Linked DNA regions of Homo sapiens: region 2 is linked to region 1. Evidence: promoter capture Hi-C in 16 types of primary human blood cells and fetal thymus (Javierre and others, 2016). All regions are on one chromosome and are shown on one strand. The core of a region is centred on a gene start or on the middle of the fragment in contact, and the rest is flanking DNA. Distances in the headings are between cores, read along the strand shown. Region 1 holds the start of B4GALT4 (beta-1,4-galactosyltransferase 4). Region 2 holds the start of IGSF11-AS1 (IGSF11 antisense RNA 1).

Region 1 (4,165 bases), core at 1,666-4,165:
TCACTGCTACTTGCTTTCCTACACTTACTGAAAGCAATAACCCAACTTCTCCAATTAATAACCTACCAGCTACCAAATATAGAAAAGCTGAGTGATTCTTTTTTTTTTTTTTTTTTAGATTAACTTGCTTGGCTCCTTTATTATTCTCCTTTATTATTAAACTTCCTCAGCATAATGTGATTTGGGCAGACAGAGATGTTATCCTGTGGCTTATTGTTGGCCTACATTCTCTTTTTTTTTTTTAAATTTATTTTTTTTTTAGTATTTATTGATCATTCTTGGGTGTTTCTCGGAGAGGGGGATTTGGCAGGGTCATAGGACAATAGTGGAGGGAAGGTCAGCAGATAAACATGTGAACAAAGGTCTCTGGTTTTCCTAGGCAGAGGGCCCTGCCGCCTTCCGCAGTGTTTGTGTCCCTGGGTAGTTGAGATTAGGGAGTGGTGATGACTCTTAGCGAGCACGCTGCCTTCAAGCATCTGTTTAACAAAGCACATCTTGCACTGCCCTTAATCCATTTAACCCTTAGTGGACACAGCACATGTTTCAGAGAGCAGGGGGTTGGGGGTAAGGTTATAGATTAACAGCATCCCAAGGCAGAAGAATTTTTCCTAGTACAGAACAAAATGGAGTCTCCTATGTCAACTTCTTTCTACACAGACACAATAACAATCTGATCTCTCTTTCTTTTCCCCACATTTCCCCCTTTTCTATTGGACAAAACCGCCATCGTCATCATGGCCCGTTCTCAATGAGCTGTTGGGTACACCTCCCAGACAGGGTGGTGGCCGGGCAGAGGGGCTCCTCACTTCCCAGACGGGGCTGCCGGGCAGAGGGGCCCCCCACCTCCCAGACGGGGCGGCGGCCGGGCAGAGGGGCCCCCACCTCCCAGACGGGGCGGCGGCTGGGCAGAGGCGCCCCCCACCTCCCGGACGGGGCGGCTGGCCGGGCGGGGGCTGCCCCCCACTTGCCGGGCGGGGCGGCTGGCCAGGCGGGGGCTGCCCCCCCACCTCCCGGGCGGGGCGGCTGGCTGGGCGGCTGCCCCCCACCTCCCGGACCAGGCAGCTGCCCGGCGGAGGGGCTCCTCACTTCTCAGACAGGGCGGCCAGTCAGAGACGCTCCTCACCTCCCAGACGGGGTGGCGGCGGGGCAGAGACACTCCTCAGTTCCTAGACGGGTCGCCGCCGGGCAGAGGCATTCTTCACCTCTCAGACGGGGTGGTGGGGCAGAGGCGCTCCCCACATCCCAGATGATGGGCGGCCAGGCAGAGACGCTCCTCACTTCCTAGACGGGGTGGCGGCCGGGAAGAAGCGCTCCTCACTTTCCAGACTGGGCGGCTGGGCAGAGGGGCTCCCCACATCCCAGATGATGGGCGGCCAGGCAGAGACGCTCCTCACTTCCTATACGGCGTGGCAGCAGGGCAGAGGCTGCAATCTCGGCACTTTGGGAGGCCAAGGCAGGCGGCTGGGAGGTGGAGGTTGTAGCGATCCGAGATCAAGCCACTGCACTCCAGCCTGGGCAACATTGAGCACTGAGTGAGCGAGACTCCGTCTGCAATCCCGGCACCTCGGGAGGCCGAGGCTGGCAGACCACTCGCGGTCAGGAGCTGGAGACCAGCCCGGCCAACTCGGCGAAACCCCGTCTCCACCAAAAAATACGAAAACCAGTCAGGTGTGGCGGTGCGCGCCTGCAATCCCAGGCACTCGGCAGGCTGAGGCAGGGGAATCAGGCAGGGAGGCTGCCGTGAGCCGAGATGGCGGCAGTACAGTCCAGCCTCGGCTCGGCATCAGAGGGAGACCATGCAAAGGGGAGACGAGGACCGTGCAAAGGGGGGAGGGAGATGGGGAGGGAGACAGAGAGGGGGAGGGGGAGGGGAAAAGCTGAGTGATTCTTGCAAAAGGTATATATTATGCTTCCAGGCATCATATGCTCAAGACCTGGGGACTATGTGGGTATAAGTAACTGATTGTATAACGCCACTGGATGAAATCCAGTAATGTCCTTTTTCACTAAATGTGGTTATACACCCTTACAGCATGTTACAAAGGGAACACAAAAAAATAAGTTTCACACTGGACCTTGTTCAGGAGCAGTGTTGACCTATTTCACTGACCTATCCTCAACTGCCACTAGGTGGCCCTCTTTTCCAGCTTCCAAGGGCCTACATTGGGCCTATGCGGCCTCAGTATAGCCTCAGATTTCCTGCTATGAAGCTTAATGAGCCCAGCACTGGCTCTAGCTATGGTTTGTTCCTTTTTGGGTGGAGTGGATGTGTGGTTCTTGGAGAATCTACTACTTTCCCGTGAGTGCAGTGGGAGACTGCATTAGAGAATCTAGCTATCCTGACTGCCTAAACAGAGCCTACCATAATTTTTCACTCAAATCTTTAGTGTAAATATAATTGTCTTTGCTTTCTGTAATAATATCTTTGAAGAAATACGGATTTAAAAAAATCATTTAATATTCTCAGACCTGCAACATGGGAAAAATATTATTATTATTATTATCATTTTTGCAGTTGAGAGGGCTGAAATCTCGCAGGGTGATTAAGTTTATTAGCCTCTCTAAAGTCTCAGTTTCCCACTCTGTAAAATGGAAGGGTCCCTATCTCTTTCCTACTGCTTTGTGAGTATTTAAGGGGATGGAATTTGGGAAGCGCTCAGCACCCAGTCTACTATTGGCACAGGGTTTTAAAGCCACCCAGAGGCCGAGGCGTCAACCCTCCGTTTCCCTCCCGGTGCTCCTTCCAGCGCCCGGTGTGGTCGATTTGGCGGGGGTGGAGCGCCAGGCGCGTGCAGAGCCGGGCGGACCAGCCTCTCCGGCCAAGGCGGGAGGCGGAGCTCGTACTCAAGAGCCGCCTCCCGGGCGGCTGGGGCGGTCCCCGAGCTGCTTTCCGCGTTCTCCCCTCTCCGCGGGCAGTGCTAGCTCGCCGCGGCCGCCTCCGGGGTGAGTACGCTGGCTCCGCCGGCGCCCGGGAAATGCAGTTCCCTGGACACGGGCGCCGTGCGAGGGTAGCCGGGCGACGGCCGGGGTCAGTCCCAGGGCTGTAGCGGGGCGGGCGTGGGGATGACGTGGCGGCGTCCGTGGGGCAGTCCCGCCTCAGCCGGAGCGGTGGGCCGGGCCGGGGGCCTACGGAGGCCGAGCCTGGCGGGAGGCACCGGCTCAGGTGCTGGCGTTCCGCGCGGCGCCGCCTCTGCTGCGGGCCGGGGGAGCCAGACGAGGTGCTGCCGGGTAGGAAAAAATCCAGGGCTCATTCATACCCCAGGTCACGATTCCGGGGTCGCCCCCAGCACTTCTCCGCCGGGTGCATCAACCTGAAAAAGCCCCTTCTTCCTGGAAACCCTCCTTCTCCAGCGTTTCAACGGGGAAACTGATCAGCTGACACCAGCCCCAGTCCTGCGAGGGGCCGGCGACCTTTGACCTTTCTCCAAAGGGGTTGGTCACCTGGATTATAAAAGACTTCGGAGACAGCCATCCAGTGTTTGTTGATCTGTATCCCTTGATGTTCTGTCTTCCATTAGATAAGGGCTGTTAATTCTTGGTTTGAAAAAAAACAGACAAAGTCCAAAGGACTCTGCATCGAGGAGAGGCCTATGGGTTGGTAGCCTTAGGAGAGTAGTTATCAACAGTGGGTGGGTGTGCACACTGTTGCAAAGTGTTCCAGAGTGGGTGAGGGATGGGGACGTGGCGGTGGTGAGGGTACTGGTAGACCTCCTCAGCCGTTTGGTGATGAAAAGGAGGAAAAAGAAAATGGTAATCTGAGCGTGGAGGCGAGTTGTGGCTTTTTTTTTTTTTTTTAAATTTTTAAAGAAAGGAAAATAACACCTTTAAGATGCAAGAAAATCAAGGAGAGATCAGGATGAATAGGATTCAGGGTCCGGATTGAGAAACTGGGATTCAGAAGGGAGGGCTATTCCCGAGACCCAGGCGGGGAGTGCTGGAAGGTCTCTCTTGGGAGAGGAGATAATGCTTGATTGGATATAGTTCAGAAGTTTTTGGAATTTTGTCTTCTAGAGCAGGTTTGTTCTTTATGGAAATTGTAAACCCCATGAAATTGCAATAACTTTCGTCTACCTATAGCTTTGATCAGATTGAAAACATACGTTGTGAAAAAGTACTGACCTGGATTGAACTGTTTGACTACATAATCTAAGGGGAAGTGGATAGA
Region 2 (4,165 bases), core at 482-2,981, 300 kb after region 1:
TTATATAAACCGCCTAAAACAATACTTGGCACATAAGTTCTTGATGAATAGCATCAAGTACATTGAACATCAAATATATTGAACATTTACTGTATTATGGTCTCTGTGTGCTGAGACCCGAGCATATAGGTTCTACTTAGAATCAAATTGAGAAAGGCCTCTATTAAGAGAATTTAAAGTGTCGTGACTATATCAAGGAAGTACAGGGTGTCATGAGGGCATTTAAAAAGGAAGGGTAGTCTGTTCTGGAGGTCAGCAGAATTTTGAAATCTGAAGGATGGGTAGAAATGAGAGGGATCGTGTGTGTGTGTGTGTGTGTGTGTGTGTGTGTGTGTGTGTGTGTGTGTGTATTTCAAGCTAAGGCAATAGACCACATAAATCTTAGATGGGAGAGTGCAGTGTGTTGCTGAACCTGAGAAAAGCCCACTGTGGAAGAAAGTACTGTAAGACTGGCTGGAAGAACAGGCAAAGGTCAGATTAAGCAGAGCCTTGAAGGTCATAGAAAGTAAACCTAGATACATTGTATTAGAACCTAATGATGATGCCATATTACCTCTATCTCTATTCCTAGACTTCAAGAGAACTTCTAAAAGGATAACCAAACTCTTTACTTCCACATTTAAAATATTTGTATGTTAAAAACTGAAGAATGCTTTAAACTAGTTAGAAGTTAAATTAGTACTAACACAAACATATCTAAAAATCAAGAAAAATTTTAAAAATAGTGTTTAATTTGGAAAGAAGCAGTGTTACTGGTGAACAAGAATAAAATATTTCAGTTGAGCCATTTTTAAAAAGAATTTAATTGGTTTCAGAATGTAACATCCTTCCTGATGGTTTCAGATGGCTTTATTTGTTCATAAATAACTCTACTTGTTGATTTAGCCACTTTTGTCATATGAATGCTTCATTAAACAAATGGAGCTTGCTCATTATAGCCAAGTAGAGCTATATTCAACCAAGTGGTGAAGTTGAGAGTACATGGTTGTATTTAACAGCAAAGGCCCTTTATCTGGCCTCTTGCCATCTGGAAACTCTAGATAGCATTTCCCAATATAAATCTCAATGTAGTAACCAGACTGATAAGGACATGCAACTATAGCATCACAATGTCAGAGAGTGTTCTGTATACAGGAAAGAAAAATACATTCTTCTCACCCTATTCATTATCCAAGTTAAAAGCCTAGATTTTCAGAAGTCCTTTAGAAAGCTAAGCAGCAAGAAATTTTATTTTCTCTGAAAAAGGCCAGTCACATGGAAGTTCAGATTTGGCTAGAGGGTTATCATTGTAATAAAAGACAATCCTGAAATAGCGAAAAAATAGCCCCTAGATTCTGTCAGTTTTCTCTGCCCATTCCCTGCCTTGTCTTTAAACTATGATTTCTGAAATTTTTGAAAGCACAGAGATCTTTTTTAAAGTCCTTATATAATGCTTAGGGCATTAAGATTTATTTTTAAACTTTACTCATCATTTCTAGGCTCCACAAAGTTTTGTAAGAAATGTCTATCTGTTTTTTAAAATGTCAAGTTGAATTCAAATCTGAGACCCCTTTTTAAAAAAATCATTGTGATAATTATCAATTATTGAGGCTCCCCTCTATATGCTGCAGTCTGTCTTACAGAGCCACAATGCTGGGAGGACCCCTCTGGTCTTCTGTGGAGTAACTGCTTTTTGTTCGAGCCCCTTGTTCAAGCCCGCAGGATCCTTTGTGTTGCTCTGCAGCTTCTGTGCCTTGTAGGACACATGGAATGTTGTGATGACCAGAGCTCCAGTCTCCAGGACAGCCATACTCTTTGAGGCACCATTATTTCCTTTGTCCTCTGAGCAAAGGAGAGCATGCATCTCCTCTTGTCAAGGAACTTGGCCAACTTCCATTCCCCTCCCAGTAGTATTTTTTCTCCTTTATCAGGCTCAAAGGCAGCCCCTCCTACCTCCTCTGCCCCACTGTAGCTTCCTCAGTGAGCATAGGCTTCACAAGAGACAGGAAGCCTGTTGGTCTTCAGTAGTTTCATCTTTTCACCCTGCAAAGCCGACAAGATAAAGGAATACACAGACAACTTGACAAAGATAGGCTTAGAAGAGGTAGGAGAGAAGAAGGAGAAAGACATAATTGTTATTGTTTTCATTTGTTGCTTGCTGTAGTCAGCATAGTCGTATTCATGGCTGACAAATCATATTTTGAATAGTATTTCTATTTGGAGGAATTCCCACATTATGAGTCTACCTCCCCAGTGTTAGAAATGAGAACTTAAATTTCTGGCCTCTTGTGTAGCTTGGACTTCGGCCCTTCAGTCAGATTCACATAGAGAGTCTCTGGCCCTGACTTGAAAGAAGAAACTTGAAAGAAGAAACGTGACAGAACAAGTTCTATGTTGAGCTTCTATTGCTAGCACAGATAGCAGCATAAGAGTATGGCTTTGCAGGATGGTAGTGTTGTAGGGTTAAGTGCCTGATATAGCACTGGGACATCATTCGTAGTTGCAGTAAAGTTTTGGCATTTGGGGTTTGGTGACAGGGACAGTTGCAGCAATTTTCTTAAGCCAGTTTTACAGTATAGTTATGGATGTTTTCCTGGAAGATTAGCCCTTAATTTGTTTTTCAAGCCATTTCCATGATTCTGTGAGCTTCCCAACATACCTTTTTCTAAAAAAACATTTTTTTAAAGTATAACTTACATACAATAAAATCCCTCTGTCTAGGTATATAGTTTGCTATGTTTTGACAAATGTCTCGTCTTGTGTTCACTACCATAACCGTGATGTACACTATTTCTGTAACTCCAAGGACTTCCCTTATGCCCTATGTAGTATTCTCTGCCAAACTTTAACCCTCAGTCCCAGCTCCAGCATCTGGCAACTGCTGCTTTGTTTTCTGCCTGTATAGTTTTGCTTTCTCCGTAGATTTTTTTTTAATGGATACATGCAGTATATAGCCATTTGTTTCTGGATTATTTCACTTAGCACAATAGCTTTAACATTTAGTCATTTTGCATATATCAGAAGTTTGAGGTTTTTTTTGTTCATAAGTAATATTTCATTAAATGGCTGTGTCACAATTGTTTTATCCATTTGCAAGTTGATGGGCATTTGAGTTGTGTCTGGTATTTTGGCTATTACAAATAAAGATGCAGTGAACATTTGCATATAGGTTTTTCTGTAGATCTGTATCTTTACTTGTCTTGCATAAATATCTAGAATTGGAATTGCTAGATTGTATAGTTAAGTGTACATTTAATTCTGTAATAAAATATGAAAATGTTTCCAAATGACTGTACTACATTTCATTTCCTTCAGAAATGTATGAGAGTTAGTTGTTCTACATTCTCGTCAACACTTAGCATTGTCGTGTTAATATAATATATTCTAGTTGATGTTTTGTATTATCTCAATGTGGTTTTAAGTTCCCTGTTGACTAATGAAGTGGAGCATCGTTTCAGGATGTTATTACTCATTTGTATACTTTCTATGCATAGTGAAGTGTCTGTTCAAATCTTTTGTGCATTTAAAAAATTGGACTGTTTGTTTTGTTGAATTTTAAGAGTTTTTAGATATTATAAATACAAGAACTTGTGTTTTGAAAATATTTTTTCCCAACCTATGGCTTGTATTTTTATTTTCTTAATAGTGTCTTTTGAAGACAAGAAACTTACCTTGTTTTATTATTGTTTTATTATCAAAACAATAATTTTGATGAGGTCTTACCCATTTTTAAGTGGTTAATGCATTTTGTATCCTATTCCAGAAGGCTTTTTCTAACCCAGAGTCATAGAGAATTTCTCCTGTGTTTTCTTCCAGAAGTTTTATAGTTTTATTGATATGTTTAAATTTTTTATCTATTTTGAGTTAATTTTTATATAAAGTATTAAATAAGGGTAGAGGTGTTTTTTTTTTTTTTTTTGGCATATGGAGATTATTTTTTCCCCCAGTGCAGTTTTTCAAAAAGAGTAAACTTTTCCCCCTGAATGGCTTTGACAACTTTGTTGGAAATCAATTGCCCATTTATGTATGAATCAATTTTTGGACTCTCTATATGTCCTTATTCCAATGCTACTTTATCTATATTACTTTATAACTTACTTTTTTTCTTGAAAATTATTCTATTCTAATATTCACTTTTGTACATACATTTCAGGAGCAATTTGTCTATACAAAACAGCTCACTGAA

Evidence for each region. The method cuts DNA at HindIII sites, captures the fragments that hold promoters and counts their contacts. A CHiCAGO score of 5 or more calls a contact.
Region 2: a contact is called between the fragment with the promoter of IGSF11-AS1 here and the fragment with the promoter of B4GALT4 in region 1, in 4 of 17 cell types (non-activated CD4 T cells, naive CD4 T cells, activated CD4 T cells and 1 more). The highest score is 6.8, in non-activated CD4 T cells.

What each region holds. Positions count from the first base shown.
Region 1 is chr3:119,239,628-119,243,792 of GRCh38, reverse strand. It overlaps B4GALT4 (beta-1,4-galactosyltransferase 4), which reads left to right and starts at 2,915. Exons shown (of 8, transcript NM_003778.4): 1 at 2,915-2,943. All of the region lies in intron 3 of B4GALT4-AS1 (B4GALT4 antisense RNA 1), which reads right to left. RefSeq lists silencers at 2,049-2,098, 2,749-3,228. The HindIII fragment of the contact is 11,429 bases long and covers 2,213-4,165 here.
Region 2 is chr3:118,940,642-118,944,806 of GRCh38, reverse strand. IGSF11-AS1 (IGSF11 antisense RNA 1) reads right to left here and starts at 1,731. Exons shown (of 4, transcript NR_046230.1): 1 at 1,621-1,731. The region is part of intron 1 of IGSF11 (immunoglobulin superfamily member 11); the gene reads left to right. The HindIII fragment of the contact is 7,141 bases long and covers 1-4,165 here.